Linked DNA regions of Homo sapiens: all the other regions are linked to region 2. Evidence: promoter capture Hi-C in 16 types of primary human blood cells and fetal thymus (Javierre and others, 2016). All regions are on one chromosome and are shown on one strand. The core of a region is centred on a gene start or on the middle of the fragment in contact, and the rest is flanking DNA. Distances in the headings are between cores, read along the strand shown. Region 1 holds the start of HAUS5 (HAUS augmin like complex subunit 5). Region 2 holds the start of FFAR3 (free fatty acid receptor 3). Region 3 holds the start of HPN-AS1 (HPN antisense RNA 1). Region 4 holds the start of GAPDHS (glyceraldehyde-3-phosphate dehydrogenase, spermatogenic).

Region 1 (3,862 bases), core at 985-3,484, 250 kb before region 2:
TCCTCAACTGGTGGCAGAGGGTTTTTGCTCAGCAGTTTCTGTGTCTGACACAGAAGCATTAGGGTATTGGCTCCCTCCCTCCTTCCTCCTAGGATTGTCTTACCCACACTTCCAGCCTGTTTCCTGTCTGTGCTGGTGACAACCACATCTTTGTCCCAGTACTGATCTCTTCCCGGAGCCCTGCACCTAGAAGTCCCAAGGCCTCCTGGAAGCCTCCCCTTAGGTGTCATATGAGCCCCTTGCACCCATTGGGTCCCACACTGGCCTCAGCATCTCTCCCATACCTGTCCCATCATCTCTTCTCACCAGCTTTGATGCCACATATCCAGGTCCCACCTCTCTGCGCCCAGCTAATTAATGCTCTTTATTTATTTTTTCTTTTTTTGAGATAGAGTCTCGCTCTATTGCCCAGGCTGGAGTGCAGTAGTGCGATCTCAGCTCACTGCAACCTCTGCCTCCCAGGTTCAAGCGATTCTCCTGCCTCAGCCTCCCAAGTAGCTAGGATTACAGGCGTGTGCCACCACGCCTGGCTAATTTTTTATTTTTATTAGAGACAGGGCTTCACCGTGTTGGCCAGGCTGGTCTCGAACTCCTGACCTCAGGTGATCCGCCTCCCAAACCACATCTTTGTCCCAGTACTGATCGCTTCCTGGAGCCCTCAGGTGATCTCATCACCTGAGATGAGGCCTCAGGTGAGCCTCCCAAAGTGCTGGGATTACAGGTGTGAGCCACTGCACCTGGCTGAGCTAATGCTGTTTCCACTGGACTTTAAGCCCTATGAGGATGGAGATCAAGGCTGTCTTGTGACCCATTGTCCCCAGCATCACCCAGCACCTGGTTGGGCTTAGAGCAGAAGATCTACAAGTCATTTTTCGGATGAAAGAGAATCTTGTAGCATATGCTTCTCACCTGTGGACTGTCCTGGTGGCCATACCTAGGAAAACGAGGCCAGAGTCAGCGGATGAGTGGGGCTTCTAGGGGGGAGGGCAATAGGTGTGATGCTGTGGTGGGGACAGGGCTAAATGGGAGTGGGGAAGACAGGAGGGGATAGCTTTAAGAAGCAGTTACCAGAGTAGGTTTCCCCGGATCTTCTTGACAGTCCTACAGTGCAGAGGCAGAAAGAGGAGTTACTATGGGCCTCACCTGTGCCCCCTCCCCTGCTCTAGCCCAGCTTACCTCTGACTGTGCACATGCTGCAAGATGTAGGCCCAGATGTCAGCCCCCTGGCCCAGACACAGCCTGTGGGGACAGTGTGTAAGCATATGCCTGGGGCAGCACACAGGGTGTGGGATCCTCATTCCTAGGGTGATGGTGGTAGGGAGTTTTTACTAGGGAGTTCTCACTTCTTGAGGAGGGAAGGCCCAAACTTTTTTTTGCCTTTTTTTTTTTTTTTTTTTTAAGAGACAGTCTCGCTCTGTCGCAGTGGTACGATCATAGCTCCTTGCAGCCTCAACCTCCTGGGCTCATGCGATCCTCCCACCTCAGCCTCCAGAGTAGCTAGGACTACAGGCAGGCACCACTACACCCGGCTAATTGGTAAAACATTTTTTTTGTAGGGACTGGATGTTTGCACTAAGTGTGGTGTTATTCTCATTCCCTGGGAAGGCGGGTGGTGGGGGAGCGCGGGAGAGGCGGGTGCTCCCTTTCTCCTGGGAGTGGGTTATCCCAGTCACATCCAGAGGTGGAGGTGGGGGATGTACTGCCAGGAAGTGCCATCTCATGACCAGACGTGGGGCATCACTCCTACAGCTTCAATCCCCGATGGGGTGGCCACGGCTAACTCCTGAGTGTCCTTCTTGGTTAGGTTAAGGGAGGGAGGGGAGGTGCTGCGGGGACAGCCTCACTCTGGAGATCCTATTTCCATAAGGAGCGAGGTCTTAGCTAACTCGTGGAGGATCCTCACCAGTGCTAGGGACCTCACTCTGGGGAGCCTCCCAGGGTAGGGAGCCCTCAGTAAGTCGGGTCACTCTCGATGGGGAATTGGGGGGAGTCGAGTCCTCAATGAGGGGTGGAGTTCTCACTCCCGGAGACTCAATCTCCAGGGTGGGGTGTCCTCACTCCAGGAGCGGTCCTCACCTGCGCAGCGTCGATTCCGGGGCCCGGGCCGCCACGGGCACCCCCATCTCTTCGACCGCCCAGCAACCCAGTTCCCGCGCTTCCTGCGCTAGCTCCATGACAGCGCCGCGGCGGCGACACCGCCTCCCTCAGCCTCTTCAAGTGTGGCGCCCGCCTCTGACGTCACGGGCGCGCCAACAGTGACGTCATCGGTTGCCGGGCAGACAGCGGGCTCGGGCGCTGCATAGTAATCTTAGCGCGGTCAGGCTGGGTCTTGCAGCGCTCACTCTTCCCAGGTAGGTCTCCTTGAGTGGAAATGAAAAGGGCGTGGAGAGACTGCAGCCCCGCCCGCCTTCCCTCGTTCTCCCGCTCACTACCAGCTAACCCGAAAGAGGCAAAACAGTCCTTGATGCTTCCATTTATTTTCTTTTTCTTCTTTTAACTAAACACTTTTATTTTAATAGAGATGGGATCTCACTTGTTGCCCAGGCTAGTCTCAGCTTCTGGGCTCTTGAACTCCTGGGCTCAAGCGATCCTCCCGCCTCGGCCTCCCAAAATGTTGGGATTACAGGCGTGAGCCACCACGCTCACCCCCTTTATTTTCTTGACAAAATGGGACTTGCGTCCTAGGAGGACTGGAACCAGGCAATGAGATCCTGGACTTACTGCTCTTTGATTTCAGAAACAGGTGTCTCATGTCTGAGTGGAGGGTAGGGGCAGAGAGCATGACCCTAACATTTCCCTGGCATGCGTTTTCCCATTCATTCGTGCTTACCATTCCATAAACTCAGGGAGCTGACCCTGTGCTGGGTGATGCTGGGGACACCATGGTGACCACAACAGCCCTGGTCCCTATTGTACGGAGCTCACAGTTGAGTGGGGAGACAGACGCACCACCAGGTAGGGGTGGTAAAAATAAGCAGCAGGGGTGGGTCAATTTGGGACACAGCAGGTGTGAGAGGTCTGCGCTAGACCAGCAGTCCCCAACCTTTTGAGCATCAGGGACTGGTTTCATGGAAGACAATTTTTCCACAGTCTGGGGGATGGAGGGTGGGAGCAGTGGATGGTTTCGGGATGAAACTGTTCCACTTCAGGTCGTGAGGCATTATATTCTCTGTCTCTCTCTCTCTTTTTTTTTTTCTTCCCTGTTTTTTTTTTTGAGGTGAAGTCTCCCTCTTTCACCCAGGCTGGAGTGCAGTGGCCCGATCTCGGCTCAGCGCAATCTTTGCCTCCGGGGTTCAAGCGATTCTACTGCCTCAGCCTCCTGAGTAGCTGGGATTACAGGCGCCCGCTACCATGCCCAGCTAATTTTTGTATTTTTAGTAGAGACGGGGTTTCACCATGTTGGCCAGGCTGGTCTTGAACTCCTGACCTTAAGTGATCAGCCCATCTCAGCCTCCCAAAGTGCTAGCATTACAGGTGTGAGCCACCATGCCCCGCCTAAGCATTAGATTCTCATAAGGAGTGCGCAATCTAGATCCTTCGTATGCACAGTTCACAATAGGGTTTGCGCTCCTGTAAGAATCTAATGCCGCTCCTGATCTGGCAGGAGGTGGAGCTCAGGCAGTGATGCTCACCCATACGCCACTCACCTCCTGCTGTGCAGCCTGGTTTCTAACAGGCCATGGACTTGTATTGGTTCACGGCTTGGGGTTTGGAGACCCCTGCCCCTGCCCTAGATGAAATACTTCTCTGATGCTGACTAACCAACCATGCTTAAAAGCAAGGCCCGAAAGGATCAAGCTATTATTTAGCTGCATTCCAGAACAAAATTCAAGAATATTTATAGAGATTAAAAAAAATCCAG
Region 2 (4,261 bases), core at 1,273-3,772:
TAGTTCTGTTTCTTATCATGGCCTGTTTATATTTGTCCTGCTCAGACAGACTTATCTGACTTGGGACATTTGACTGGGCCAGGTGACCACAGGTGACACACAGATGGAGAACAGCAGAGTGGCTTAGGGGCATGGGTGTCAGAGTCAACTGACACCAGCTTCTGGTCCCACTTCAATCGCCCACCAGCTATGGGATCTCAGGTAGGAGGTGTCACCTCTCTGGGCCACTCCTTCATCTGAAACTGGGGATAATGCTGGTACCTCTCACAGGGCTATTGAGAGATAGAAGGAGATGATGTGTCAGGCCAAGTCCTTTAGACAGGGCAGCTGTTATTTTCATCCCTGCAAGCCAGATCCTCTCCCAGCATCCAGGCATCCTGGTGTTTGGCCCTTTTCCTCCAGAGTCTGGTGTTTTCTCCTTCCATCCACCAGTCCCACCCGGCCCAAGCACACCACCAGAACAAAACAGGAGAAGAAGGAAACACTGTTCTCTTTTGCTTGCTTCCACATTTATTTGGGTAATTTTTCTTCTGTCATTGTTCATAAATGTCTCTGATGATCCACATTTATTGAGCAATGGGAACTTTCTGGAAAAGGCGCTGTGGGAGCAGAATGCGGCCTCATCCCTGGAGCCCTGTCTCCCCCGCTCCTGACTCGCTGGCTGGGAGCAGCTCTGAGGATGGGGTTCTCCCCTCTCCTGCCCCTGCCACTCACTGGGCAGCCCCCTCAGACCCTGGGCACTGCTCTTAGCTCCTCTGCCACCCTCAAGAAAACACAGGAGCTGCCTGCTGCTATGAGGACCTCATTGTTCTCCAGAGCAGCCTCTCACCCTGACCCCTTCCCAGAGCCCAATCCATAGTGTGTGGGTGGATGGGGATGGAGGTGAGATCGAGAGCTGGGCTTTAGCGCGCATACCCTTAGGGAGGCTAGATGTCTACTCTGCCCCCAAGCCCCATCGGGCCCCAGCTCGCCACTCCAAGTCCCTCCTGGCGTGAGCGAGGAAGCGCCCTGAGGATGACATGCCAGCTACACCCTCCTCCCCCGGAGGACCTAGCTTTCAGCACAGGCCACCTGGCCACCAGTTCCACAGCCCTGTGAGTGTTCACTGGTCTTTCTTTCAGCTGGTCGGTCCGCTCTCTGCTCCTCCCCTCCCTTCTGCTCCTTCAGCTCCATGCTGCTCTCCTGCTGCCACTGGCCCCAGAGCCCACACAACCTCCTCAGCAGCTCATGAAAGTCGGCTTGGAACCCGGAGGAGGAGAAGTAGTAGACAAAGGGGTCGACACAGGAGTTCAGGGTGCTGAGAAGCGTCACGTAGATCCTCCACGCCGGGCTTTCACCGCAGATATAGCCCACGACATGGGACACGTTGTAGGGCCCAAAGCAGACAAGGAAGTTGAGCAGCGTGGCCGCCAACAGCCCCGCCACCCTCCTCTGCCGGCGGTGGCTGCCCCCTCTGCCGAGGATCCACACCAGGCGGCTGTAGCAGTAGCTGGTGATGATCAGCGGGACCACAAAGAGGACCACAGCCATCTCCAGCCGCACGGGCAGGAGGATGGCTAGCTGGTCCTTCCGGAACTCCAGGTAGCAGGTCCCATTGGTGCCCTGGCTGTGGGAGATGTCCCCTGAGAATTCTATGACGTAGACCACGCTGCAGTGAGCAGAGGCCAACAGCCAGCAGGCCACACTCACCAGACCTGCCTGCCCCAGCCTCGGCCGGGTCTTGTACCACAGTGGGTGGGCCACACTCAGGAAGCGTTCAATGCTCACAGCTGCCAGGAAGAGGGCGGTGAGATAGATGGTGGTGAAGAAGATGAATCCAGAGAGTGGGCAGAGGATGAAGGGCAGGGGCCAGTGCATGCCATTGGCTGCCTCCACCATGCGGAAAGGCAGGAACAGCAGCAGGAGCAGGTCCGAGGCGGTCAGGTTGAGCAGGAGCACGTCCACGGCCACCGGGCGGCGCTGCAGCTTGCCCACGAAGACCACCAGGGCCAGCAGGTTGAGGGGGAGCCCCACCAGGAAAGTGAGAAGGTACACCGAGAAGACGAACCAGTGATTGCCGGAGAAGTAGGACTGGTCGGGGCCTGTATCCATGGTGGTGGCCACTGGTGAGAGAGAGTAACATGGAGTTGGTAGTGGGGGCCCTAACGGCCTCTGGCCAGCAGCATCTCCCCTAAAAGGGCACGAGGTCACTACGCCCACCCCTCTTGTCTCTGGGTGCCTTCCAGGCGGGGTCAGCCTGCCTGTCTTCCTGAGCATGCCCTGTCCCCTGTCCCTTCCCCAGCAGAGAAGCACCAAGGTGCTCCTCCACCCAGCCCCTCGGGCCCAGGCTCACCTGCTTCTTTGAGACCCCAAATGCTCTGCCGCACAGCACCTTGCTGTCTCTCCAGACCTAGTGCAGTTGGCTATTTATCCGGCAGAACTGATAAAGACCTGGCCGTGCCCATGACGTCACTCACTGTTGAGCAGTGGCACATAGATGCCTTGAGCTCCGTTGCCAGGGCTGGTCAGCATGCTAAAAGGGGAACAAATTCCACAACTGCGTGCCTCCCTCCTCATGCAGTCTCAGCTGGGATGCTCTAAGCAGGCCCCAGCCGACGTCTTCCTCTCCCCTTCTTCACTTGAATTTTGTCTGCTTCTCTAGAATGGCATTTATCCAATTTGCCTTGTAAGGGCAGGAAGTGTGATGCAATGACAGAGAGCGAGCTCCGTGAGGTCTGTTTCTTCCTGACTTTGTGATTTGGGGGAAATGACTTAAATTCTCCATGTTTCTGCTTTCTCCCCTGCAGAACAGAGCTCATCATAATACCCATCTCATAGATCAACGCATTAACACATGCAAATTAAAACAATATGTAGGTCGATTAAAAGATTACTAATACATGTTGAGTGGTTTGACGGAAGCCTGGCGTGTGGTCGTGAGCAGGCAGCGGATGCCAGCTGCTATTTTCCCTGTCACTGGTGCAGGATTATCTCTGGGGTGACAATGTAATAATAATAACAATAATAATGGTGGTGGCGATGATGACAGCAGCTGCCTTTTCATGGGCACATAATCCATAGCAGACACTGCTTCTAGGGCAACGCTTTTATGTCATAAAATCCTTGTCCTTCACCGTAGGGAAGTGACTTGCTCCAGGTGATACAGCTTGTGAAATGTCACCACTAGGGTTCAAACCCAAGTGCTGTCCAGTTTCACAGGTGATCTATTAGTTCATTCAAACAATCACAGGGCACAATGAGATATGATTTCACATCCACTAGAATGGCCACAAGCAAAAAGTCAGACAATGCCTATGGTCGGCGAGAATGTAGAGAGATAGGGGCCTCATTCACTGCTGGTGAGAATAATGGGAGGTGGTGTCCCTGCTTTGGAAAGCAGGTGGCAGTTGCTTAAAAAGTTAAACATAAATTCACCATGCGATCCAACAATTCCACCGTAGGTATTTACTTAAGAGAAGTGGAAACTCAGGTCTACTTAAAGACTCAGTCCTAAATGTTCACAGCAGTGTTGGTCATAGTCACCAACAGTGGAAATGTTACCTGGCAGCCCATCAGCTGGTGAGTGAATAAAAAAGTGGCACATCCATATACTGGAATTCTATTTGGCAAAGAAAAGGAATGAGCTACCCATACACACTACAGCCTTATGTTGAGTGAAACAAGCCAGACGTAAAAGACCATGTACATATATTGTCAGATTTCATTTATTTATATGATATGTCCAGAATAGGCAAAGTTATAGAGTCAGAAAGTAGACTCGTGGTTGTCTGGGGGATGGAGGTAGAAATGAAGATTAAGTTGTTTTTTTTTTTTTTTTTTTTTTTTTGAGACAGGGTCTTGTTGTCGCCCAGGCTGGAGTGCAATGGTGCAATCTTGGCTCACTGCAAACTCTGCCTCCCGGGTTCAAGAAATTCTCATGCCTCAGCTTCCTAAGTAGCTAGGATTACAGGTGCCCGCCACCACGCCTGGCTAATTTTTGTATGTTTAGTAGAGATGAGGTTTCGCCATGTTGGCCAGGCTGGTCTCGAACTACTGACCTCAGGTGATCCGTCCACCCCAGCCTCCCAAAATGCTGAGATTATAGGCGTGAGCCACCCCGCCTGGCCCAAGATTAAGTTTAAATGAACATGAAGTAAAATCCTTTACTAGGGTCATGAAAATGTTCTAAAACTAGCTGATGGTAATGGACTCACACCTCAGTAAATTTACTAAAAATCATTGAATTGTACACTTAACATTGGTGAATTTGATGATATGTACA
Region 3 (4,139 bases), core at 1,264-3,763, 250 kb after region 2:
CACCAGGCCCCATCCAGCCCCTGCGGGACTCACTCACCCCTGAGATGTGCACATGAGTGCCTCTCTCCTGGGGTTCTGCTCAAATATCACCTTCTCAAGGAGGCTTTCCTTGGCTTCTCAATTTAAAACCATCTTTTCCATCTGGAAGCCACCACCGCCCCTCCCCATCCTGTTCTGTATGTTCTTCCCTGACACGAACGCATACGGCCTCCTGACAAACTATATAATTCATACTGGTGAGGCCTATTGTCTCTCTCTCCTCTGGAATCTCAGCTCCACCACGATGGAGAGATCTTGACCGTTCCACCCACTGCTGTTTCCCCAGCACTGAGCCCAGGGTCTGGCACATAGTAGGTGCTCAGGAAGTTTTTAATGAGTGGATGAATGAACGCCATTCTTTTTTTTTTTTTTTTTTTTGAGACGGAATTTCGCTCTTGTTGCCCAGGCTGGAGTGCAATGGCGTTATCTCAGCTCACTGCAATCTCCGCCTCCCGGGTTCAGGTGATTCTCCTGCCTCGGCCTCCCGAGTAGCTGGGATTACAGGCATGCACTACCACGCCTGGCTAATTTTGTATTTTTAGTAGAGACGGGGTTTCTCCATGTTGGCCAGGCTGGTCTCGAACTCCCTACCTCAGGTGATCTGCCCGCCTCAGCCTCCTAAAGTGCAATTTTTTTGTATTTTTAGTAGAGATGGGGTTTCTCCATGTTGGCCAGGCTGGTCTCGAACTCCTGACCTCAGGTGATCCACTCGCCTCGGCCTCCCAAAGTGCTGGAATTACAGGCGTGAGCCTCCATGCCCGGACTAATGAACACCATTGTTGAGAGTTACTATATATCCCAGGCCCCGCCACAGATGAATCAGACATGCCACCTCCTTAATTTGGCCACAGCTTTTTGGGAGCACACAGTAGGCCCACAGACAGAAAGGGAAGGGCTCAGAACCTGACAGCCTGGGTTCCAATCCTAGCACAGCCACTTTCTCCTTATGCGACATTAGGCAAGCAAGTCTGCCTTCCCGGGCCTCAGTTTCCCCATCTGTACCACTGGGATAATAGCAGTCCATCTGCTGTGCTGCCCTTTGGAGTCAATGGGCTCGTTGTGTGGGACGCTGACAGCATGACTAATTCTGAAAGCTGGTTCCCTTCCTGGAAGGGGGTGGAGTGGGAGGGGTGTGGCTGTGTGTTTTCCAATAGCCAACAATGGAACTCTTGTAGGCAGGGGCCCTCGGGCCTAGAAAACACATCCACCCCTGTGGGTTCTAGACAAAAGTTTCAGGTCTCAGAGTGGAGGTTTACCAGGGCATTTACACTCTTTGAAGATTGTTAAGAAGAAATACTGGTTTCGGGGGACATAGGGACACAGGGGTGGATTCCCATTTTGCCCTCTCTCCCTGCAAGAAGTAGCTGCCAGAGATGGGGGGTAGGGGCAGGATCTCTCCCACCTACAACTCCTGAGTAGGATTAGATAGGCTTAAGAAAACCTCTGGGCTGCACTGATTGGCTCAGTGGGGTTTAATCAAAGTGAAGCATTGGAATTTTTGTTGAGTACTTGGGGTAAGAAAAGATTCGGGTTTTGGACAATGGGGAATACACATTTAATGACTGGAAAATTGGCAGTTATTTTGCCATCACAAGAAAAGCCAGCCTGAGGACAAAGCTAATGCTATAGAGAAACACAGACCAAGAGAAATGCTGAAAAACTGAGTTAGCACCCTGATCAAACCATGCCTGATCTCCCTCTGGAATTTTCAGTTATGTAATTAGTCTAAAAATCATAAAACACAGTCTGTGACTGGTTTGAGTTACCTTTTATGAGGCTTTCTGTAACCAAAACAGCCAAAGTGGTATATAGGGAACTTCTGTGGACCCAGAATCTCTACACTTTCACTAGGCTATCACATGATTTTTACTTAGTTTGAGCCAATGTATTTCTTTTAGCTTCAATCGGTTCAAGAGTCTCTAGATGCCAATGAGTGCTTACCTCATCAGGTCGGGGCTCTCTCTGCAGACAAACCTGGGTCCCATGAACCTACATCTTTGAAATGAACACAATGGGACTGCTGGACTTGTTTCTCCTTCCCAATTTCCACCTTGAAAAGGCGCAATGAGCTGGAGGAGCCACAGGACTTGGTAAAAGCAGAAGCGCAAGTGCCTGGAAACTCAACACTCTTCCGGTCAAAGGAGGCGACGTGTGAGTGCATGGTTGCTTGATAAATGCCAGGGGAGAGTGGGTGGCACCCAAAGATGCCCCTGAGGGTCTCACATCTCTGCCCCGGCCCACAGGAGGACGGGGAGCAGCACACGGCGTGGGTGGAGGCCTGGCAGTGGCAGAATTGCTCACAGCGCTCCCCAGTCCAGAAGGCCTCCCCAGCCGGGTGGTGGTACCTGCCCCCCATGGAGCAGCTGCACTGGATTGGGGGCACGCAGTCCATGCCACTGAGCACAAAGCCTGGGTCACACTGGCAGCCATCCTGGCATGGTGTCAGGCAGCTGTCGGGCAGGGCAGGCTCGGCACAAGAGCTAGGACAGGAGGAGCCGCAGAGCTCGTAATTGCTGCGGGGAGGACAGGCCAGCTCTGGAAGAAAACAGGTAGGAGTTAAATAATTGAGCAAGCATTACTATTCTGGAGCATTTCCAACCAGAATAGGACCAAGGGAGCGGAGAGAGGGTTGTGGGGGCCAAGGGTAAGTCATAAAGGCAAAGGAGGGGAGGTGGAGGCATCATCAGGATGTAGCATAATGGTGGCGGCGTGGTCACGGCGGTGATAACGGTGGCGGCGTGGTCACGGCGGTGATAACGGTGGCGGCGTGGTCACGGCGGTGATAACGGTGGCGGCGTGGTCACGGCGGTGATTAACGGTGGCGGCGTGGTCACGGTGGTGATAATGCTGGTGGCGTGATCATGGTGGTGATAATGGTGGTGGTGGTGGTCGTGGTGATAGTAATGATGATGATGGTGGTAGGGCTGGTGATGTTGTTGGTGATGTGATGGTGTTGATGGTGATGGTAATGATAGCGGTGATGGTGACAGTGATGATAGTGGTGAGGGTGGTGGTGGTGGTGATGACAATAGTTGTGGTTGTGGTAACAATGATGGTGGTGGTAGTGATAATGGTGATGGTGATTATAGTAGTGATGGTGATGCTGATGCTGGTGGTGATGGTGATGCTGGTGGTGATGGTTATGATGGTGATGATGATGTTGATGGTGGTGGTGGTGGTGATGATGATGGTGATGGTGGTGATGGTGATGATGGTGGTGATGGTAGTGGTGATGATGGCTGTGGCTGTGGTAACAATGATGATGGTGATGGTGGTGATGGTTGTGGTTGTGGTAACAATGATGGTGGTGGTAGTGATGATGGTAATGCTTGTGGTGATGGTGGTGGTGGTGATGATGGTAATGCTGGTGGTGGTGGTGGTGGTGAGGCTGGTGGTGGTGGTGATGGTGACGCTGGTGGTGGTGGTGATGGTGACGGTAATGATGATAGTGACTGTGATGATGACAAAGGTGACGAAGATAGTGATGAAGAAACAACCTTGGTCATGCTGGGTCATGTTCAGGTTAGTTCGTTACTTCAGCATAACCCAGACCATCCTGACTGATGCAATAGCACTCAGTGTCATCTGTTATTGTTATTGCAGAGTTTTAAGCAGGTAGGTTCTTCGCGGGAACAGTTAGCCAGAAAGGCATGCAGTGGGTCACTTTGGGTGGTGTTGACCTAGGAGGACATCCTGGAAGTGGTATTGGGCCAGCTGGGGAGGTCAGGCTGAGAAAGACCCTCCCTGGGAATACCCACTTACTGCAGGCCAAGAGGTGTCTCCAGGGCTGCATGGGAACGCTGCGCTGCTGGCTTTCCTGGGCGTAGCTCCCCAGTATGGCACACAGAGTCTCTCTTGAGCCCCCCGTGGCACAGAGGTCATGGATGCAGTTCTCCACATGCACCTGGGGATCCACGTCCTTACTGCAGGCCCTGTAGGGCCCATCTTGGGTGCCCAGCAAGCCACAGAAGGCCTGGTATAGGGCTGCCTTGTCTGGTGGGCACAGAGGGGCTGGGCCCCCATTAAGCTGTTGGCATCAGAGAGCCATGTGCTATCAGAGCCGCTGAAGTCATCCTGGGTATCCACGCTGAAGTCCCCGC
Region 4 (4,182 bases), core at 1,002-3,501, 170 kb before region 2:
TGTTTTTAATCAGCACTCCAGGCCGGGAGCGGTGGCTCACGCCTGTAATCCCAGCACTTTGGGAGGCCGAGGCAGGCAGATCACCTGAGGTTGGGAGTTTGAGACCAGTCTGACCAACATGCAGAAACCCCGTCTCTACTAAAAATACAAAAAAATTAGCCAGGCGTGGTGGCACATGCTTGTAATCCCAGCTACTCAGGAGGCTGAAGCAGGAGAATCGCTTGAACCCAGGAGGCGGAGGTTGTGGTGGGCGAGATCGTGCCACTGCACTCCAGCCTGGGCAACAAGAGCGAAACTCCATCTCCCAAAAAAAAATAAAAAATAAAATAAGCACTCCAGGCATTTCTTATCCTCAGGGAAGCTTAGAGAGTACCGTGTATCATACTCTGTGAAACCCATGGAAGCTCACATTGGCTCCCACCTCTCCACACACACTCCTGCTCCCAGACTGCACTTAAAAACACCTGCGCCTGGAGGTAGCAGCCGCCTGAGCTACAGAGGAGGGCTTGAGAAGAGGGGAGAAGTGGAGACTCAGGGGACCTGGTGGCAGAGAGTTTCAAGCTGGAAAGTCAAGCCTGGCTCAGTCCACACAGACCTGCTGCTCTGTGGATTTGAGCAAGTTAATGAACCTCTTGGGGCTGATCCCCCACCTAGGGGCTGCTGTGAGGGCGCAGTGAGATCTCGAGGCCCACACATAGGAGCTGATTTTAATAGAGGAGGGAAGTCTGATCCTACACAGATTCCTGAGGAAAGGGAGACAGCAGGGGGTGGAGAAGGGCTGGAAGGGGGTAGTGGGAGTCCAAGTTTTTGGCACCAAATCAAAGGCACCTGGGGGGTGGTGGGGCTGGGAGCCGGGGGCCAGCTGGCCTGTCTGTCTCCCTGACCTCTCCCTGTTGCCACAGACCTTGTGGCCTGAGGCTGGACTATAGGTGTTTCCAGTGGCTGTCCAAGTTCATGAAGGTGTTAGTGTTTATTGGTGAACTTGAGGATGTTTGCATCCTTGGGGGTTGTTTCTGCTATGGGAGAAAGGGGATTTGTCCACCTGGTTCAGGTGGGAATCTGAGCCCAATGGGTGACCCTTCCGAAGAAAACTCAGATGGTCCTCCTCTCCCAGCACTCCCAGCCTTGCACTCTCTTCCCCTCCACTGTAGGGGTGGGGTCCCCCGGTTGGAGAAAAGCCTGGGGGCTAGCTGGGTGCTGCCCCCAGCTCCTCACTGCGTCCTCCCACTGAATCCCGAGAGGCATGCGCTATAAACCCACTTTACAGAGGGGAAAATGAAGCCTGAGGCCACGGAGCAGTGATGCGCAGGGCAGGGGTTCAAGTCTCATGAGGCTGGTAAGCCTGTCTGCTCCTGTGTCTTCCAGGGTCTCCTGGACCAAAGCCCCAGCCCCACCTACCCCTGCGGCCCCCGCCCTTGGGAAGTGAGGGAACAGTGTGGGAATGGAGGCAGCCCACCGGAAGACCTGGTTCCTCCGGCTAGAGTGAGTGAGTGAGTGTGTGTGTGTGTGTGTGCGCGCGCGCGGGCGCGCCGCCCTTGTTGAGAGACTAAGGAAGTAGTTTGCCCTCTCTTAACCTCTGTTGGCCGCTCTGTAAACTGCGGGCACACTCTGGCCTTCTCAGGTGGTGGTGAGGCTTCCCTGAGCTCTCGCCTGCGAAGTGGTCAGCACGTCCCCGGCAAGGTTCCAAGTGTCCTTGTTTTGTGCATCACAGGGAGGGCAAAGCTCACCTCACGCGAAGCGCCATGAACATCACTTTTACATGGAAGCCCAGCACCCCTGGGTTCTCCCTAAGCCCCTCCTAAGCCCGCCCACTTCCCGCCACTTTCAGGCTGCAGCCTCCGATGGCCCTCGTTTCTGCTCTTTCTACCGCGTGATAGCGGCGCGAAGCCCACCCAGCCCTGGGGGCGGAGGCCCGGTCTCCCCGCCATGGCAGTAAACCCCACTCTGCCAGCACACTGGCGGGTGTGGAGGGAGGGAGAGCGGCTGATCCCCTGGTCCCTAGATGGTGCACACGCCAGGAAGGGCGGTAGGGATACGGCACAGGTGTGAGGGTGCAGACGCTCCCCACTACCCTTTCCACCCCTCCCCCGCGCCCTCCGCTGCCTCCCTCACCCGGGCACGGCTGTCGCAGCAACTGGACAACGGTGACATTGGTGAGGACGATGTCGCGCTTCGACATGGCCTCTTATAAGGTTATCATTGGCCTGGACCTGCTGTGATGTTACCGAGGTGCGTGCGGAGCGCCAGGGCTGTGGGTCCTGGGCTAATTGCCCTGATGTCACAGCACCCAGTGACGTCACAGTACCCAGTGACGTCGCCGAGGGGCGGCGCCCAAGCCAGAGGCCTGACACCATCGCATCCCATCCCCGTAGAGGCATGGGACGTCAGCACGCTATGCATCACCGTTCCACGGCCACGCACTGCCGTCTGGAATGGAATCCCACTTTTTAAAATTATCATTTGTTTATTTATTTTGAGACGGGGTGTCACTCTTTCTCCTAGGCTGGAGTGCAGTGGTGCAATCATGGCTCACTGCAGCCTTGAACTCCTGGGCTCAAGCGATCCTCCCGCCTCGGCCTCCTGAGTAGCTGGGACTACATGTGCAGCCACCACTGCAGGCTATTTTTACTTTTTATTTTTTTGTAGAGAGAGGGTCTCACTCTTTTGCTCAGGCTGGTCTAGAACCCTTGGGCTCAAGCGATCCTCCCACCTCGGCCTTCCAAAATGCTGGGATTACAGGAGCGAGCCACCACACCCAGCCTGGAATCCCACCTTTTACACTGTTCCTGAAAGCCCTTTCCTCTTCTCTGTCTCTTGAAGCACACAGGTTCCATGCTGTCCCTTGGATTCTCCAGTGGAGTGACTCTTGCTGCCTCCGTATGCCTGGAAGGCCCACCCAGGGCTTCCCTTGGCTGCCTCTTGGTTTCCCACCCTTTAAGAGAGGCTTTCTACACTCTGCATCTAAGTTCCCTCCTTTCTCTGTCACTGTCAGCCGTCACCCCCTTCCCAATTTCTGCCCATCTTCCAGGAAGCCTTGTCTGACTTCTCCATTCTGAGTTATGCTTCAGTGTGCAAAATTTCTCTAGGGCTACACTGTCTATGTTTTTATTTTCCTTAGAGCACATGTCTCTCTAAAAATTGTTTGTTTTCTTGCCAACTGTCTCTGTCCACCAGACTGTAAGCTCTGAGAGGACAGGGACGTCATCTATGTCACTTCTGTATCCCATTGACAAGAAAAGTGTTTGGCACCTGAAAGGTGTTTGTGGGCTGGACGCAGTGGCTCATGCCTGTAATCCCAACACTTTGGGAGGCTGAGGTGGGAGGATCATTTGAGTCCAGGAGTTTGAGACCAACATGGGCAATGTGGCAAAACCCTGTATCTACAAAAAATAAAAAAAGTAGCCAGGTGTGGTGGTGCATGCCTGTTGTCCCAATTATTAGGGAGGCTGAGGTGGGAGGATCACTTGAGCCTAGGAGGTCAAGGCTGCAGTGAGCTGTGATTGTGTCACTGCACTCCAGCTGGGAGACAGAGCAAGACCCTGTCTGAAAAAGGCGTTAGCCCAATAAACTATACCTGAATGAATAAATGTCAATTCCTCAGGTTTCATCTGATCGCTAATCTTTTCTTTTCTTTTCTTTTTTTTGAGACAGAGTTTCGCTCTTGTTGCCTAGGCTGGAGTGCAATGGTGCGATCTCAGCTCACCGCAACCTCCGCCTCCTGGGTTCAAGTGATTCTCCCGCCTCAGCCTCCTGAGTAGCTGGGACTACAGGCGTGCGCCACTACACCTAGCTAATTTTTTTTTTGTTTTTGTATTTTTAGTAGAGACGGGGTTTCACCATGTTGGCCAGGCTGATCTCAAACTCCTGACCTCAGGTGATCCATCTGCCTCGGCCTCCCAAAGTGGTGGGATTACAGGCGTGAACCACCTCGCCCGGCCCTGATCGCCAATCTTATCAAACTCTTCACGTTATATCTTCTCGCAGCACCCATTCTTTTCCTTGTAGCTTTTCATGTAGTTTGTCATGATCTACTGATTGGTTTATTTGTTCGATGTCTCCCCCTTGGGCTCTAAGCCCCTCACAGGGCTCCTGTTCTTGTTTGTTTGTTCACGACTGTGCCTCCAGCACTTAGAACAATACAAAGCAGGTTTTCAATGAACGTCTGACAAAGAACAAGTGGAC

What was found. Contacts are between HindIII fragments. The CHiCAGO score rates a contact against its expected background, and 5 or more counts as called.
Region 1: the fragment with the promoter of HAUS5 here is called in contact with the fragment with the promoter of FFAR3 in region 2 in 9 of 17 cell types (M0 macrophages, M1 macrophages, naive B cells and 6 more); the score reaches 10.0 in M0 macrophages.
Region 3: the fragment with the promoter of HPN-AS1 here is called in contact with the fragment with the promoter of FFAR3 in region 2 in 10 of 17 cell types (naive CD8 T cells, naive B cells, total B cells and 7 more); the score reaches 12.2 in naive CD8 T cells.
Region 4: the fragment with the promoter of GAPDHS here is called in contact with the fragment with the promoter of FFAR3 in region 2 in 17 of 17 cell types (M1 macrophages, M0 macrophages, M2 macrophages and 14 more); the score reaches 17.2 in M1 macrophages.

What each region holds. Positions count from the first base shown.
Region 1 is chr19:35,611,107-35,614,968 of GRCh38, reverse strand. HAUS5 (HAUS augmin like complex subunit 5) reads right to left here and starts at 2,234. Exons shown (of 19, transcript NM_015302.2): 1 at 2,077-2,234; 2 at 1,177-1,239; 3 at 1,069-1,101; 4 at 910-934. The coding sequence starts at 2,174. HAUS5-DT (HAUS5 divergent transcript) reads left to right here and starts at 2,305. Exons shown (of 2, transcript NR_186318.1): 1 at 2,305-2,351. RefSeq lists enhancers at 2,097-2,356, 1,945-2,500. The HindIII fragment of the contact is 7,658 bases long and covers 1-3,862 here.
Region 2 is chr19:35,356,721-35,360,981 of GRCh38, reverse strand. It overlaps FFAR3 (free fatty acid receptor 3), which reads right to left and starts at 2,522. Exons shown (of 2, transcript NM_005304.5): 1 at 2,333-2,522; 2 at 493-2,102. The coding sequence starts at 2,091. The coding sequence ends at 1,051. RefSeq lists an enhancer at 674-1,201. The HindIII fragment of the contact is 8,969 bases long and covers 1-4,261 here.
Region 3 is chr19:35,104,678-35,108,816 of GRCh38, reverse strand. It overlaps HPN-AS1 (HPN antisense RNA 1), which reads left to right and starts at 2,513. Exons shown (of 4, transcript NR_024562.1): 1 at 2,513-2,588. LOC124904701 (hepatitis A virus cellular receptor 1-like) reads right to left here. Exons shown (of 3, transcript XR_007067238.1): 2 at 1,981-4,139. The HindIII fragment of the contact is 15,680 bases long and covers 1-4,139 here.
Region 4 is chr19:35,531,525-35,535,706 of GRCh38, reverse strand. GAPDHS (glyceraldehyde-3-phosphate dehydrogenase, spermatogenic) reads right to left here and starts at 2,251. Exons shown (of 11, transcript NM_014364.5): 1 at 2,113-2,251. The coding sequence starts at 2,179. RefSeq lists an enhancer at 1,265-1,394. The HindIII fragment of the contact is 5,250 bases long and covers 364-4,182 here.